Regions from separate parts of the Homo sapiens genome. Here regions 2, 3, 4 and 5 are each linked to region 1. Evidence: promoter capture Hi-C in human tissues and cell types (Jung and others, 2019). All regions are on one chromosome and are shown on one strand. Each heading gives the region's core, a stretch centred on a gene start or on the middle of the fragment in contact. The rest is flanking DNA. Distances are from core to core; before and after follow the strand shown. Region 1 holds the start of MPDZ (multiple PDZ domain crumbs cell polarity complex component). Region 2 has its middle 24 kb from the start of TRH-GTG1-6. Region 3 overlaps NFIB-AS1 (NFIB antisense RNA 1). Region 4 overlaps NFIB-AS1 (NFIB antisense RNA 1). Region 5 overlaps NFIB (nuclear factor I B).

Evidence for each region. Contacts are between HindIII fragments. The study calls those that stand out against the background at their distance.
Region 2: a fragment that was not itself captured here is called in contact with the fragment with the promoter of MPDZ in region 1 in 1 of the 25 tissues and cell types used here (heart left ventricle).
Region 3: a fragment that was not itself captured here is called in contact with the fragment with the promoter of MPDZ in region 1 in 3 of the 25 tissues and cell types used here (IMR-90 fibroblasts, dorsolateral prefrontal cortex and hippocampus).
Region 4: a fragment that was not itself captured here is called in contact with the fragment with the promoter of MPDZ in region 1 in 2 of the 25 tissues and cell types used here (dorsolateral prefrontal cortex and hippocampus).
Region 5: a contact is called between a fragment that was not itself captured here and the fragment with the promoter of MPDZ in region 1, in 3 of the 25 tissues and cell types used here (dorsolateral prefrontal cortex, hippocampus and thymus).

Annotation. Positions count from the first base shown.
Region 1 is chr9:13,278,105-13,281,135 of GRCh38, reverse strand. It overlaps MPDZ (multiple PDZ domain crumbs cell polarity complex component), which reads left to right and starts at 1,444. Exons shown (of 47, transcript NM_001378778.1): 1 at 1,444-1,736. RefSeq lists enhancers at 1,821-2,536, 2,537-3,031. The HindIII fragment of the contact is 5,465 bases long and covers 1-3,031 here.
Region 2 is chr9:14,408,134-14,411,164 of GRCh38, reverse strand. It overlaps a transcript of NFIB not described here. Among named protein-coding and RNA genes, the nearest start is that of TRH-GTG1-6, 24 kb to the left of the region's middle. The HindIII fragment of the contact is 5,394 bases long and covers 1-3,031 here.
Region 3 is chr9:14,341,855-14,344,885 of GRCh38, reverse strand. The region is part of intron 1 of NFIB-AS1 (NFIB antisense RNA 1); the gene reads right to left. It also overlaps a transcript of NFIB not described here. Among named protein-coding and RNA genes, the nearest start is that of NFIB-AS1, 26 kb to the right of the region's middle. The HindIII fragment of the contact is 4,467 bases long and covers 1-3,031 here.
Region 4 is chr9:14,325,051-14,328,081 of GRCh38, reverse strand. All of the region lies in intron 1 of NFIB-AS1 (NFIB antisense RNA 1), which reads right to left. It also overlaps a transcript of NFIB not described here. Among named protein-coding and RNA genes, the nearest start is that of NFIB-AS1, 9.5 kb to the right of the region's middle. The HindIII fragment of the contact is 3,094 bases long and covers 1-3,017 here.
Region 5 is chr9:14,300,794-14,303,824 of GRCh38, reverse strand. The region is part of intron 2 of NFIB (nuclear factor I B); the gene reads left to right. Among named protein-coding and RNA genes, the nearest start is that of NFIB, 12 kb to the left of the region's middle. The HindIII fragment of the contact is 6,370 bases long and covers 1-3,031 here.

The sequences.
Region 1 (3,031 bases), core at 195-2,694:
TGGGAATCATGTAGCATCTATGGCAGTTCCATTCACTGGGACACTGAACAAGATGACCAGGCTTGAGCAGAAGTATCACGGCTGCATTTTTTTTTGCAATCTAGGTTTGAGACAAGCAAACAGGGAAGCCAAATAAACACTTGAATATATGGATAAATCTGAAGGTATAAATGTAAGATTCTGTAGGTACGAGATCATAAGCTAGAAGTGAAAATGTATTTAGAGGTAAGAGTTAAAAGGAAAAGAGGGCCCGTAACTGATTTTTAAGGAATTCCAGCATCTAAAGATTGGGGGAGAGGAGGCAAAGAAGACTGAAGAGTGGCCTGGGGACAGGGGCAGATCTACCTGGAAATTGATGTAGCTTAACGTTCCGGGTCCTTCTCTTGCCTGGGAGCAACCCTAGCAATGTGTTTACATGGGCATTTATTTTTTGAATTTTTCTAAAGAAAGATTTTTTTTTTTTTTTTGGTTAAAGCAGAGCTCCCAATTGTACAAGCTTCAGAGCCCATACATCCGCCCTTGACTAAGCGGAAGAAGCAAAACCAAGAGTGTGATTGCATGGAATTACAAGAGGGGTGGGGTGGGGAGGACTCTAGGAAGAGAGAGGTCAACAGCTGTGAATGTGTTTGAAAGTCCAAGGAATATGAGAAAAAAGTATTTTTATTCAGAATATTAAAAGAAATTCTTTTAAATGTTCTAAATTGGACTTCTGAGTATCCTTTGGTCCTATAATCTAATATCAGAGGGATATTTTGAAAAAGAGTTTCTTATGCAGAAAAAAATTCGTGGGACTTCCAAATTGAGGATAACAGAAAGAAAATCTTAAGTGGCACAAAATAGAAATGAATATCTGTTCTTCCTGGGGCCATGCAACTCTAATAACTTTTCCATGTTTACTGTTTTTGCTTTTTAATTGGATCATCAGACTAAGAATGCACCCTGATGTGCGAAAAGTTACTTAGAAAGTGAGAGGACTGCCCCCACCCTTCTGATTAAAGCGCTTCTCATAAGCATCCTATGCCATTCAGTAAGCTACCCATGCAGAAAGCATCCACAGGGCAGTGCACATAAGGAAAATCTGAGGAGCTAGAAACAGGCTATCAGTTTCCGCAGGTTGACAAAATCGGCAGATAAAAATACAAGACTGCCATTAAATTTGAATTTCCGATAAACAACGAAGAACTTTTTAGCATAAGTACGTCCCAAATATTGCATGGGATATACTTGTACTAAAATTATTCCTTTTTTTTTTTATTTGAAATTCCCATTTAACAGAGCAGCCTATATTTTATCTGACCACCTCACAAGTCCACTACCCACACCCCAGGTCGAGCGGCCCAGGAGCGAGTTTAAAACCCCGCACAGGCCTGCTCGGCCGCGTCCCCTGATTGGCCAAGGCGCGCCCGCCGCCCCGCCGGTCGCAGGCGTCACGGCAGCCCCAGCAGCCTGGGCCCCGCCACCGCCTCCGCGGCAGCCCCGGTCGGCGCAAGTGCGGCGCGCGCTGGGGGAGGGGGCGCGGCGGAGCGCTAGGCTGGCGTCGGGCCACCGCGGGATTAAGTTTCTCAGTCACGCGTGAGTGTCTGTGCGTTTTGATCCGAAGCTCCTCGCCGGGTCGTTACTTCAGAAGAGAAGACAGTGAGCGTGGGCGAGGCGAGGCATCCAGAGGCCCCGGCGACCCCTGCTCCCCAGTCCTCCGCCCCCTCGCGTCGCGGCCCTGGGCGGGCGCCGCGAGCCGGGTAAGCGGCGCTTGAGCCCCGGCCCAGAGGCCGAGGCGCGCCCCCGCGCCCTGCGCGCGCGCCGGCGGGGAAGGTGCGCGGGCGCCCTGGGCTCGGCGCTTGGGGGTGGGGGTGGGGGCGGGGATGGGGGTGGGGGTGGGGGTGGGGGTAGGGGTGGCGGCGGGCCGTGGGGCGGTGGGGCGGTGCGCTTGCCCCACCCCGCGCGGCCCGGCGCTTCGCGGAAGCCGCTGCTGTGGCTTTTTTAAAAGGATGGGGTCTAGAAGTTTCCTTTGCTACTCGCAAGTCTCCACTCCCCCCAGCCCCGCGGTGGATAATCCTAGACCTTTCAGCACCCCCGCCACCCCTTTCTTTTGCTCTCGCTGACTAAGAGGTTTAAAAGTTTTTCCTTTTCCTTGACCCAGAGGGGCACAGTCTTGGTGTCGGGGGGCTGGGGGTGGGGTGTTAGCCTGGGGGCCCGGAGCGCAGACCAGGCCTCCAGGGCGCGGGAGCCTGTTGCTCTCCCCTGCAGGGGCCGCTCCCGGACGCCCCATCCGCCGTTACGTGGTCCCGGGATGTGCGGGTTGCGGTAGAGAGTGGGCAGCAATGCTCCTGGTCCTGCGTTCTCGCCTTAGCCGCGGGGACCCCGAGGCGAGCCGCTAATTGGTACCGGTGCCCCGTCCCTCACCCCTGGCACCGGCGCCCTTTTAACCGCCGCTCCCGTTGGTGGGAGCACGTTGGTCTTGTCTCTCCCTTAGTCTCCTCACCCCCCGCGCTGATGGGCGTCTTTGTCTGCGATTTGGCAGCCCCAGGATGCCGGATGTTACCAGGGAAGCGATGTTTGGGAGACGCTTTGTGTCTTGCGGAGTTGCGCGTTTGTTGGGTGGTGATGGTGTACATTTTTGTTTGCGTTCTTTGCAGAGGCACAAAGGCTGGGCTATTCTTGCCTGCAGTCACATGGAAATCAAGCGGAGACTGCGGGGGAGGAGAAGTGGCCAGGCGCCGGCGGGAGGTAGAGGCCGCTCCGTAGTCACTGGGGGCGAGTGGGGGCCCCTGGAGACCTCTACTGCGCGGTGCGGCTTTTGAGGTGCTCCGCTTGGGAAGACCCCGGCAATGGGCACTGACTGCCTTTTTGCAGTAGGGGCTGCGGTTGGAGGCTAGTGTTTCCTAGGTATCATCAGATAGATAAGAGGACCATGACTTCACCAGCGTAGAAGGAAAACTTCTCCATGTTCCTTGATGTCATAGAGAAGGAATCTGATAAGTGATCAGACTGCCTCGTCCTGCCTTGTAGACAGTTTGATGTAAACATCCCCTTC
Region 2 (3,031 bases), core at 162-2,661, 1.1 Mb before region 1:
GGTTGGGGATTCTTAGAAGATTTCTAAATGAAATAACATCTTAATATTTTTGCTCATTTTTACAACTATGTCAAAATGGAAACACATTTACAAGAATTTGACTTTTTACTTACCACTAATTGAGATTTTTTTAAAGCATCAATTGTGGGGTTTGGTAAAAATTGACATATTTCTTCCAAGGGAAAATATACTGACCTTTGCAAGGTGTCAAAGGTAACAGAACTCTGACAATAGACTAATCTCAGAGACTGATTATCTTTAACATTTATATTCCCTGTATCAATAGAAATGAGAAGGAAATGAATGAGTCTGAATTTTAAATTCATCATTTTCTGTGTGCATTTGTGGTCTGGGTCTTTGGTCACTGAGCCAAGCACTGTAGACCCCAGAGCACAGGAGAGACCTCATGTTTAGGAAAGTGGGAGTTGTTTCGTGTCAAAACTAGTGGCAAAAGGAGTATGATGCTCCCAGGAGAGCAGGAAAGCATCTATCAGAAGACTCAAGTGTACTTTCTCTCTGCTCATAACCTTCAACCTCTTTGTTTTCTCTGAATCACTCTCAACTTTCTTCCACCACAATCTAAGGCAAGGCTGATTTTAAAGTACTTTTTCATTTCCCTTTTATTTTTAGGAGGTTACCAGAGGCAAAGGTAATCATGCTCTGATGAACTGTAACTCTTCCCAAATCTCCTAACCTCTTCTACCTTATGCATAGTAGTTTACTCTGCCCTTTGCATTAATATTAGGCCCTTTCCAATAAATGATTCAAAATGTAAGACAATTGATACACGGTATAACAGAGCCCAACAGTAGGACTCAGACAACTGAAATATTGGCTACAGTGGGGCAAAATATGAAAATATGGAGCTATGAAGTAAAATGCAAAGATTGCAAACATATAACAATATCCAGAATCTGCTTGGTCATTTGGAAAATGATTTTTTTTGGAAAAGTTTTTTTTTTTTTTGGAAAATAGTAGGTATCAAGAAAGAAACTCAGAGAAGGGTAGGATTGTCTCATGTCACTTACTGTATTTTGATGCATGGCTGAATTTTAAATGTTAAAATGACTTAACACGGTTACAGACTTTAGAAACCTGCCCCTCACCCCCTATATCCCTAGAGCACATAAAAGACATTCCTGTTAAAGATACAAGTGTATATGAAAAGGCTAGTAGTACTAAAGTTTGGGTGATAAACTTATCTGTGTTTCCAAATCATAATATTGAACATTCATTCTTTTGCTTTAGCAACAGGTTTTAACATCAATTTTTCATATCCTAAATCCCTAATTAGTTCTTTTCTTAACCATCTGTTCTTTTAATTGTTTATAATACCTTCTCTTATCAGACTGAAGATATTAATTATACTTCAAGTCCAATTCTATTTTAACTGGTTTCTTGAGATATAAGTTCTTTTCTTTGTGTGATTGCTGTTTGTCTTCCTCCTTCCCAACTATGTTGTTGGAGTAGAGGAAGAAGCTACTTAACTTTTCTTTCTACTTTTTCAGCAAAAGTGGGGAAAGGTGAGCTGTGTCATAGACAGTATTCTAGTGGCTGGCCTTCGGAGTGTTGCCGCTCCCCTTTCCTCATGGGGCACTGCCCTGTCTTCTCTAACCCTAGAAGTACTCCCTTCAAAGAAAGAGCCGTCTGTTGCTGCTGCCTGGGCCAGGGGTGAAGGATGGCATGGGCAGGCATTAGCATTCCTGGATATCCTACTGTAGAACTGCAATCCAGCCGTGTGGCTGGTTGTTTGTGAACCCTCCCCTGCTCCTAACACCCTTCATCTCTAGACAGGGAGCACCAGCTCTGTGCTGAGGCTGGCTTGCACCTGCTCATAAGAACAGATAGTTCAATTTTCAGGAAATTTGCCAGCCAGTTGTTAAACAGCCATTATTAAAAATTAAATTATATAAGCTTATAATTAAATAAATTATATGAAAAGCAAGCTAATAAATACTCAAAACTCATCACTTCCTAGTTATTTGGCTATATGTTATTATTATTCATGTTCTCGAGGTTATTTATCCATGATGGAAATGTTTACAGCATGCATGTCAACAAACACTAAAAATCTGGGCTTCTTCCCCACCACAGAACCAGTTTTTAAACATGTACCAGTATATCACTAGGCATACACTTCTGTAACTTCTCAATTTCTTGGCAGTACTTAAACCAGACTGGCTGGGTTTAAACCCAGATTTTGCCATTTACTGGCTATGTAACTTGGGCACATCATTTAACTTCTCTGTGCCTCAGTTTTATCACCTGCAAAATAGGGATAATATAGCAACTATTTCACAGGGTTGCTATGAGGATTAAAAAAATGATATTTATGAAGCACTTTTAAAAAATGCCTGAAACCTAATAAGTACTGTGTATTTGCTAAATAAAATAAAATAAAAATTATTCTAAGAACCACTTTTCCCCTCTGATTCTATTGTAATTTTTTCTTATCTCTCAAAATCTTTTCTACTCTTTTTCCACACTAATAAAACATCCAACTTTCGTTGTACCCATGACCATTCAAAATAAAGATAAGATTTCTCAGCCTCCCATGAATAAATTGGGATCAAGTGATATAAACAGATGCATCATGTAATCACATCCAGAAATTAATCTTCAAGTGACAGTTGGCAAATTCCCTTTGTCCCCTTTTTTTCTGTATTCCCGCCTCCATTGTGGTCTCTGAAACTTGGGTGTGATGGCTAGAATTCTACTCACCATATGGTACCATGGGGAAGAAAGTCATACCCTAGGGATAATGGAAATCTGAACATACAAATATGAAAAGAACTACTCATAGTTGATGACAATAAAGATGTAAAAAGTGGCTGAAATAGGTTCATGGTTTAGAATGAAAATAAAGATATACAGATTCAGGTATATCTGTATAAATAAAAAGAGGCTTGAGAGCTAAACTTAGACTCTTAATGATCTTCCAGTTCCAGATCCATGAGGCCCAGCTCCCGTGGCTCATGTTATTGGATTTCTGGAAGATTCCATGTCCCTTATTGCCATGTGCATCTTTATA
Region 3 (3,031 bases), core at 397-2,896, 1.1 Mb before region 1:
TTTCTAATCTTGATGGCTATGTTGTTCTTTTTTGAAAGTAGCAATGTATGTTGGTAGTTCTTTTAGTATGTATGCCCTTCATTTGCTTTTGTTTGTAGTTACGGATTTTTTTTCTCCTTTTTGTCTTTCCTTTCTTTACCCTGCAGTCTTGGCAACCCTGTAGGAGGAGGTTCAGTGGGGAGGATGAAATCGACCCGTTTATTCTTGTTAATCACACACAAAACAGTATAAACACTGACTCTCAATTATTAATAGGATCCTTCTATTAAAAAAACCCAGTCATTTAGGTAGAACTGGTTAGGACTGAGAAATCGATAATACTGGTGAACTAGCTTATTCTGTCCCTTTAAGAAAAAATCCATAAAGCTCTTCCATCAGCCCAGTGTCTGGGAAAGAAGCAAACTAACTGCTTGGAACAAAAGAGACAAAGAGGCCAAACAACAAAACAAACAAACAACTCCCTCTACCCCCCCCTTCTGAGACAACAATAGACTAGACACAGCAAGTGCAGTTACTGCCTGGCCCGGCTGCTCCTGTCGACCTGCCAAGTCTCCCGCATTTGGCTGGAGACTTTCTCTCTCACCCCACTCTCGCACCCCCATCACCCCCCTCTCTCGGCCCTTTCTGTCTTTCTCTCTGTGTGACTCTCTCTGTGTGTGCCTCTCTTGGGGTCTGGCTATGTATGTGTGTGTCTGTCTCTGTTGTTTTTGCTTTCACTTGATGTCGCTCTGTCTCAGGCACCTTAGTGTTTCTCTCTCTCTCTCTCTCTCTCTCTCTTTCTCTCTCTCTCTCCCTCTCTTTAAAGGTCCTCAGCATATTAGCATACTCTGGCATTTATTTACTTATTTGCTAGGCCATTTCTGTAGCATCTCCTAACTGCCTCCTCAAAACTTCTGTTTCTTCCAGTTGTCACGGTGGCCTATTTTGTATTTTGTTTGCAGCACTCTCTGCCAGGAAGATGCTGAAGTCCATTTGCACTTCAGTTTTTAACCATTCTTCATGTTCAGTTCTTTGCTCTCTTTCTATAAGGTTTCTGGCACACTTCCCCCCCCGACCCCCCCTTGTCCCCAAGCAGCCCTTTCTCTGCTTCTTGGCACTGCTTGGGACTCTCATGCATGCCTGCCCTCTTTCTCTCACTCCCTCTCTCTTGTGGCCAGCCCCCTCCTCCCTGTCTCCCAATCCAGCCTTTTTCTTCCTTTTCCCTTCTCCACCAAACTTTAATAAAATACTGTACACACTTTTGCCTGGGGATTGCTTTTCTTTATAAAGTGAACCTAAACCTTTGTAAAGTGGGAAGGGAGGAAAGGCAAGAATCCAGACTGCAGCCAGCAGAGGCTGTAGCATGGAACCAGCATCCCTGCCAACAGCCACATCCCTTTCACACTTTTTTTTAATAAACCCTTTGTAATAGCAACTCCTTCTGAAGCATCTGTGTCTGCTACAGGGAAAACCTGGCCACGTCTCTCTACTGGGCTGCAAGGGTGAGGCTGAGTATCCAATAGGGAGGGCAGCTGCAGCCTCAGTCATAAGCACTCTCCCCCGCCCCAGCCCATTTCCACCTCCTCTTAGAGAAAAATGAGAAAGTAGGGGGTTCTCTGGCACCGGGGTAGAGGTCTTCAATTCCCCTTCAAGAGAAGTATAGCATGGTTACTTGAAACGAAACTTCTCCAAGGATGGTTGACTTACAGTAACAGGGGAAATTTCAACTGTCAGAAGATTGTGGGAAAAACAGGACTAAACTGTTTATCTAAAGCAGATCTGAGAATTCCCACAGTCAGGTGGTACAGGGTTGGCAAAATGGTGGCATCCCCTCGCCACCCACTCCCCTACCCCCCCGGCCATGCTCACTAGGCAACAGAAACAGGACAAATTATTTCCGTTGGCCTCACCCCCTTTTCTTTCCCTCCTTTCTTTAATAATATACAGACAAAAACATATGAAAACAACATAAGGGGCAACTCTGAAGGGAGAAAACTCATTTAGTCTGAGAAGAGTATGAAAAACAGAAATAGGAAATGTACCCTCATTGTTTGGTTGCTTGGTGATAAGGGCAGTATGAAGAAGCATCGATGTTATAAAACACACATATGCACATGCATATACACATGTGTATATGGATGCATATTTAGTTGGTAGTGACAACTTGTCAAGAGAGGAAGGGAGGAGTTTTAAAATCAGACACACATGGTTTGAATATAATTGGCCACTTATTAGCTAGGTGACTATGTGTAGCCCGCTACACCTTCCTCACAGTTGGGGTTCTCTTTAGAACTAAGTGGCATTGCATATATGAAAAAGCCAAAAGTAATGTCTGGCATGCAGCCTGGGTTCAATAAACGAGCCTTCCTTCCCTCTTTTTCTTTCTTCCTCCCTATTTCTTTTTTCTCTTCTTTCCTTTCTTCCTTCTTTCCTTCCCTTCCCTCCTCCCTGCCTCCCGTCTTCCTTCCTTCCTTCCTTCCTTCTCATTTCACTGGCTTTTCCCCTGATCTTTCCAAAGGTGTAAGCAAAGGGAATTCATGCCACTTGCCCCAGTTTTCAGTTCCTAAGGGAAACTTTGTTGCTCCTTGAGTCCCAGTAATGAAACACTGCAGACCCTATAGTAGTCTACTCTTTCTAAGCCAAATGCTGCCTGAAATAATTTGTTCTTGGGTGGGATTATTTGGCTCCATTATTCTACCCCCTTATCTAGGTTCTTTATTTTCAAATGGTTAATGAGAGAGACCCTTACCCATAATCCAGCCATGTATACGTTTTCACAGGCCCAGAGAGCTTTTGCTCTCGGGGACATATTAAAAATTGCCCCATGGCCAAAAAGCTTAAGAAGGGAGAAACAGAAAAGAGTATGTTCCAATGAACTATTGTCCTGACCCACAACTTCCCAATTGGGAATGCTGTTTTCTTGGTATTTTGACCTTGTCAAAATGACTGATTTTTTTTTTTTTTTTTCCTCCCGAGGAGTCACTCTCTAGCTAAGCAATGTTTCTTGAGTGGGATTTTGGGCTGAGACATCAGTGCATCTGGAAGCACTCAC
Region 4 (3,031 bases), core at 221-2,720, 1.0 Mb before region 1:
CCTAAAACTTGTATTTCTATTCTGACCTCCATATTTGCTTGTCAATCATCCTCGAACAAAAAGTTGGTAAAAGAAAGCAGTACTGGTTGGGTGCTAGGTAAATTCTATGTGCCTGAATTTTTCCATCTACCACTGCTCCCTTCTCTCTTCTTCTGTTTACAAAAATATTTCTCACATCATGAACCATAGTGGTATCAAAATTTTCCCAACTTTGTTTGTTTGACTTTTGAATATATTATAGGAGGGTTTTGTTTTGGTTTGTTTTGTTTTAGTGGATGAAGTGGGATGAGAAGGGCAGCTGACTTATCATCCCTAATTACATTTTTCTTTGGTTTCTATATGAACACTATTTTCATTCTACAAGCCCACATCAGCTGCTTGCAAAGTGAGCAGAAAACCACAGGTTGTTATTTAGAGTTTATTTGAAGGTTTTCAAAACACCCCATGGGAAGGCTACTCTTTTCTAAACAAATTTGGAGGAAAATATTAGCACAACAGAATAGAAGGCCTTCATATCACGAATGCAGAGATCCTCAAAAACCTATCTATACTTGTATGGCAGCACCCAGCCCAAGGTCCAGACCCATGCTAAGCATGCAATGTGTGTTTGTAGTAGGAATGAATTCCTCCTCTACTCCCTGGGCTGCACCTACGATTTCTTACTTACGGAATATAGACACAAAATATAGTTATTGATCTTCTTTAAGTAAAAGGCAACTTGAAATGATATCAACATGTTCTAGATATGCCAACAGGAATCTGTGACACTGGGGACATTTGGCCACAGGATTTGAATATAGGGGAATTAACATTGACTTTCTTTTGAATGTGGCCTCACTGAGCAAAAGGCAGGATGGTCTTTTGCCAGGACTATACTGAAGGATCAGTAGACTGTCTAGCGCTTTCGTGCATCCTGTTGCCTCACTAATTTCTGGATTGCCAGATGCCTCTGTTTTTTGAAAATGGTTAAAAAAAAAATACCTTAGTAATTCTGTTGTTTCAGAAACCTTAATATGGCATAAAATATCCTGAAATTTTTTGCAGAAAACACTTGCTTTTTTATGCTCAATTTAATCATTATAGCTGAAATTGATTCCAATTTATTGTTTTCTTTTTAAGGGCATTTTGATGGTTGAAATTCTAAAGTTGCACAAAAGTGTGAGTAAGCAAGATAGGAAGATTAATTGCTCATAGTATTTTTATAAGTCTTAAAAACATAAATAGGCTAAGAAATCGTTGATACTTCAAACTGAGAATTCATAACAATTGCAATAAACATTATTTTTTAAAGCTAGAAGGCATCCTGGATTTACCACTGTTGAATCAGAGAGCAGATTTTTCACACATTGAGTCATAACTGCAGGCTTTTTTTTTTTTTTTTTTCTGTAAACCACTTTAACCTGCTCTTGAAAACCTCTGGTTGGTGCATGGAATAAGTCTGAGTCTGTCTCTATTTAGCTTGTGAAATTTAACAAGGCCATAGCCGGGGGTTGGTAAGGCTATGAGCCATACCACCATCTCAGGTTTTTGATGACACCACAAACCACTTGAGATTTATTATGTTAGAAGATGTCATCAGATCTATGTGTGCACAGGTGCAGCATGTAGTTAGTGAAAGAAGGAACACTGCATGTGTATATTTATTTTTGTACCCATACTCTCAATGGTTAGAAAATGACCCAGTGTGCCTGTCCTGGGCAGTGTGGTGTTTCAACTCCACTGCAGATGCCTATCTTGTAATTTCTTGAAGTCTTTTCCACAAATATAATTCTTTATGATGGGCGACTATGTCTTGTAGGAATGGTATCGCATTTGTTTTTACCATCAATATCTAAAGAAGAGGCATAATGAATTACAGCTGAAGAGTGCTATAACCAATGAATAATACAAATTATTACCATGACTTGTTATTTATGCCTGGGTTTTCCTCTTACAGGACAATACACTAGACATGCACTCTCCTCTCCTGAATAAAAGTAGTGCAGGGACAGCTCTCATCTAATGAAATCTGACAAAATGCCAACATTTGGCACTTTATAAATGTCCTAATTTAAGCCTCCCTATTTTTATATAATTAGGAAATATTTAAAACTATTGCCTGAGGCAATAAAAAATATGAATCTTTCCAAATTTATATTAAAAATACAATATGCATTTTAAATTCTAAAAATAGTTATCCAATTGTTTTAAAAGAATGTGTTTATATGTTCATATTCAAAAATACATTATGTATTTTTTAAATTCTAAAAATATTATTTTTCAATATCCAATTGTTTTAAAAGATGGTATATGTTTTATTTAGTATTGCATCCTAAATATGCCACTATCTTTATTACATACTTTAAATTTGCACAAATTCTGGTATAATAATGGACTAAATATAAAAATCTAATAAACCAGTGTGTACCCTTTAATAATATAAAAATCATAGAAATTAAAACACACTTTCTCTATTTTTGAGAAATAGAAAAGTAAGACAAAATAAACACCTTTGGGGTAATGACTCAAAATTACTGGTTTAGATGGGGTAGAGGAATTACTTCAATTATGATATAAAGCATTGTAATAATGCAAGCCTTTTAGAAATAATTATATAGTGATTATTCTCAAAGATAAATATACACAGATGTTGCTAGTACATTTTTAAAATTCTTAATTTGAAGACAACATACAGAAACTGCATTACCAGTTAATTGGCTTTAGGAAGAAGCAGAAAAATCTTAACTGCAAGTGTATTTGTGAAGCTTCTGGTAAGTTCTATGGAATGAATTGTGCCTGCAACTTAAGGCAGAAAAAAATGTCATTTAAAAACACTGGAATCACTCAGTTAGATGTGCCAGAGGCCCAAAATGCTTAACTAGTGTTGGACAGTGCTATTTTTAAAAAATGAATAATTATTTATAATTTATAACAAAAGATTAATATAAAAAGATACTGGACCTTAATTATATTCTTAGAAAGGCTTTCAACCAAGATAATTTTCATTTAAAAAGGAGCATCTATTTCAAAACACTTCTCAGTTTTTTGCATA
Region 5 (3,031 bases), core at 187-2,686, 1.0 Mb before region 1:
GGCTGTTTCGTTGCTACAAGAACCGCCATTTTGTTTGTGAAGTGCCAGGCGAGGGGGAAAAAAAAGGCAGACACTGTGTTTGATGCCAATAATGGTTGCCAGTGGCACCGAGGTTGGCATCAGACCCTCTTTGTCTAGTTGCTGAATGCCTTTGATTCGTTGGTTGGCATCCGCATTGCAGTGGGCACACTGGAAAGTTTTTGACAATCCCTGAATGAAAGCTGCTTGCTTGTTTGCTGCAGCAAATCTTAGCTAATATAAAACTCTTCCTTTTTTTAGGTTTTGTCTAAAAAAACTGGGACAGATTAAAGAAAAAATAGCTCTAAATGGTATCTATTTTCCCAAAGATATTAAAGACGTCCAATGATTCTTGGGCAGGTGTTACCTATTCCCCATATTGCCTTTGTTACTGCATTCATGAAAGCAAAGCAAAAACAAAACCAAACAAAAACCAGGCAAGCCTTGCACAGCACAGCTTCCTGGGATGTAAGTGTCCTATAGGATGCAGGGTGTGCTATGACAAGTGTGTGGAGGACAAACCTAACGTAATGATATGTGATGCATTCATTATGACTGACTGTTGCTCTCAGTCACATCACTGCTTATTTGCTATGCAATTTCTAGTTCCCTCACTTGCCACTCTTGCAAATTTTATAGTAACATTTTGAGAGGACTTCAGTTTTCCTCTCTAGTTAGAAATGTGTAACAGAATACATGTTTAAAAAGAGAGAGAGAAAACTTTAAAGAGGAGACCTATGCGTTAAGGTCTGAGGTAAAATCAGTCATTCTGGAATTTCTCGATTCTGCACCACACTGTTACGAAATTCTCAGTGCACAATTTTGTACACTGGGAAAATCAACCAAAAGCCTAAAATAATTTTGGTTAAAGTTTCCTAGATAGTTAGCGTTAATATTGCTTTTCAGTTAACCACCGTTATCTCGTTAATTAATAAGAAGGATTAGCAGTTCTACCCAAAGGGCTGCACAGAAGGAAGTCTGGCCTATGGGAGGCCTTGAGTTGCCAGACTGTGTCCTGTCTGAAGGGGAAAAAAGGAAGGGGGTGGTGGTGGTGGTGGGAGTCGGGGGGCGGGAGTGGGATTGGCCTTTCTCTGAGGCAGGAAAGCGTTTTGAAGAGAGAGGTCACAACACACCAAGACATTTAAAGATCTCAAGAGATAGCAACTGTTGTCGTGTATGTAACAGATTAGAGTTTAAAATGAGTCACCCTAACTGATTTTTGGACTGTACTTTGCACTCTTATTAAACATGTTTTGGAGTGTTAAAGAGAGCCCAGAAACCTCATTGCTATCCTGAAAAAGTAGTTTCCTTTAGCCTTGTTGAACCCTTAAAATTATGATCTCTTGTTGGGTGGCCACTTTTGTTGCTTTATTGTTAAATGTTATAATAATTGAAGTACATTTTGAAGTTGTGAAAAATGTGACTTATTTACAGGGGAAGTCATAATCATTATTACTGTTTTTGAAATAGAAGCCTTCCTGGTTGTCACATATCATTAGTGAGGAAGCAAATGCTAAGAATTATTTTCTTCCTACAGTTACTGAATTTCAGAATCCTTTTGGGTAACAATTATTTCTTTATGAAAAGCTTAAGTAGATAATTGTTTGCAAGTTGGCAGTGTATTTTAACATTTTAATAGATTTCACTTCATCTGCAGGTATTTCCCATTATGGGAAAAAATAAGCTTTCATAATTGATTAAAATGAGGCTGCTCTCTAGGATGATTTGGTGTGTCTGCACTGTGAAATGCTCTGGGAACATAAGAGTTTGTGTGTAGGAGAAATACTTGGTATGCATGTTTGATTTAGGGGAGCACTGTTAAGTTTTCCCATCTAGCAACTTGTCCTTGACTGAACTTGTGAACTCTAGTGCACATTTGTTTGCATTCTGGCTCATACACAATTCACAAGATAAAGAAGGGCTCTTATTGGCATGTCTTGCTCCTAGGCTTAATGAGACCTTTGTGGGAACATATATTGTGAGATAAGATACTTAGCAATTTTCTCACTGATAAGAAAACACAGTCTCCCACCAGAAGTTCACCCTCTATGCCATGAGGTCTCTGCCACAAGATAGCTTTAACAGACAATTTAAGAGTTAAACTCTGAGGCCCCAGTTGCCAGCTGGGGAAGCTTGGCATCTGTGTTCCGATATGGCAAACTAAGCTCTTGCATTGCAGTTAATATGATCTCATTTTTCAAAGGGAAGGGTGGGGGGAGAGAAGGAGAGAGGGAGGGAGGGATGGGACGCTTATTTGTTACATCAATTATGATTTTCAAATATTTAAAAATATATAGTGCCCCACTTTCTGGAGGCAGCAAAGGTTGGTAAAATATTCTACTGACAGCATTAGGCATCCTTCCCCCCACCCTGTATATACAGCACTACAAATTTTGTAATGAAAAATAGTTAGATTATGTATTTGGATTTACAGATTTAGTGCACAATGTCTCTTGTGTGGTAAAATAATTCCAAATATCTCCATATTTGTAAGAACCAAAATAATATGCATTGTTCGAGAATCGTGGTAATTGGAGAGGACTGTGCATTGCAGTGACAGGAGTGACGGTCAGGTCTCCTGAAGAATGCCTTCCTGATAGGCACAGTTATAGTGCCTGTGCCTGGAGACTTAAAGCTGGGTAGGAGCCATTGAGAGAGGCCATCTATTGCTACAGCTTTAGTTCTTTAAAGTTACTGTTTTCTAAGGTGGTACCTAAGAAGCACTTCCAAACATGAAGATTCGTAATAGATTTGGTAGGATTTTTCATTTACTTACTTGTTTTTCCCTAAATTTGGAATTTAGGAAGAAGCTGTCATAAGGAAGTTAAAGTTGTAATCCTCCATTAACTTTTTGCTTTTGAATTTGGCACTTAAAATTTGAAACAGCAATCCAAGATACCCAATATAGCAAGGTCTTTCTCCTCATAAGCTCTCACTCAGCCAGATTAAACTGAAAAACTAGACTGGTAGGCTATATAAAACCGTTTGCTTTCTGACACTAGCGCTCTTGCCA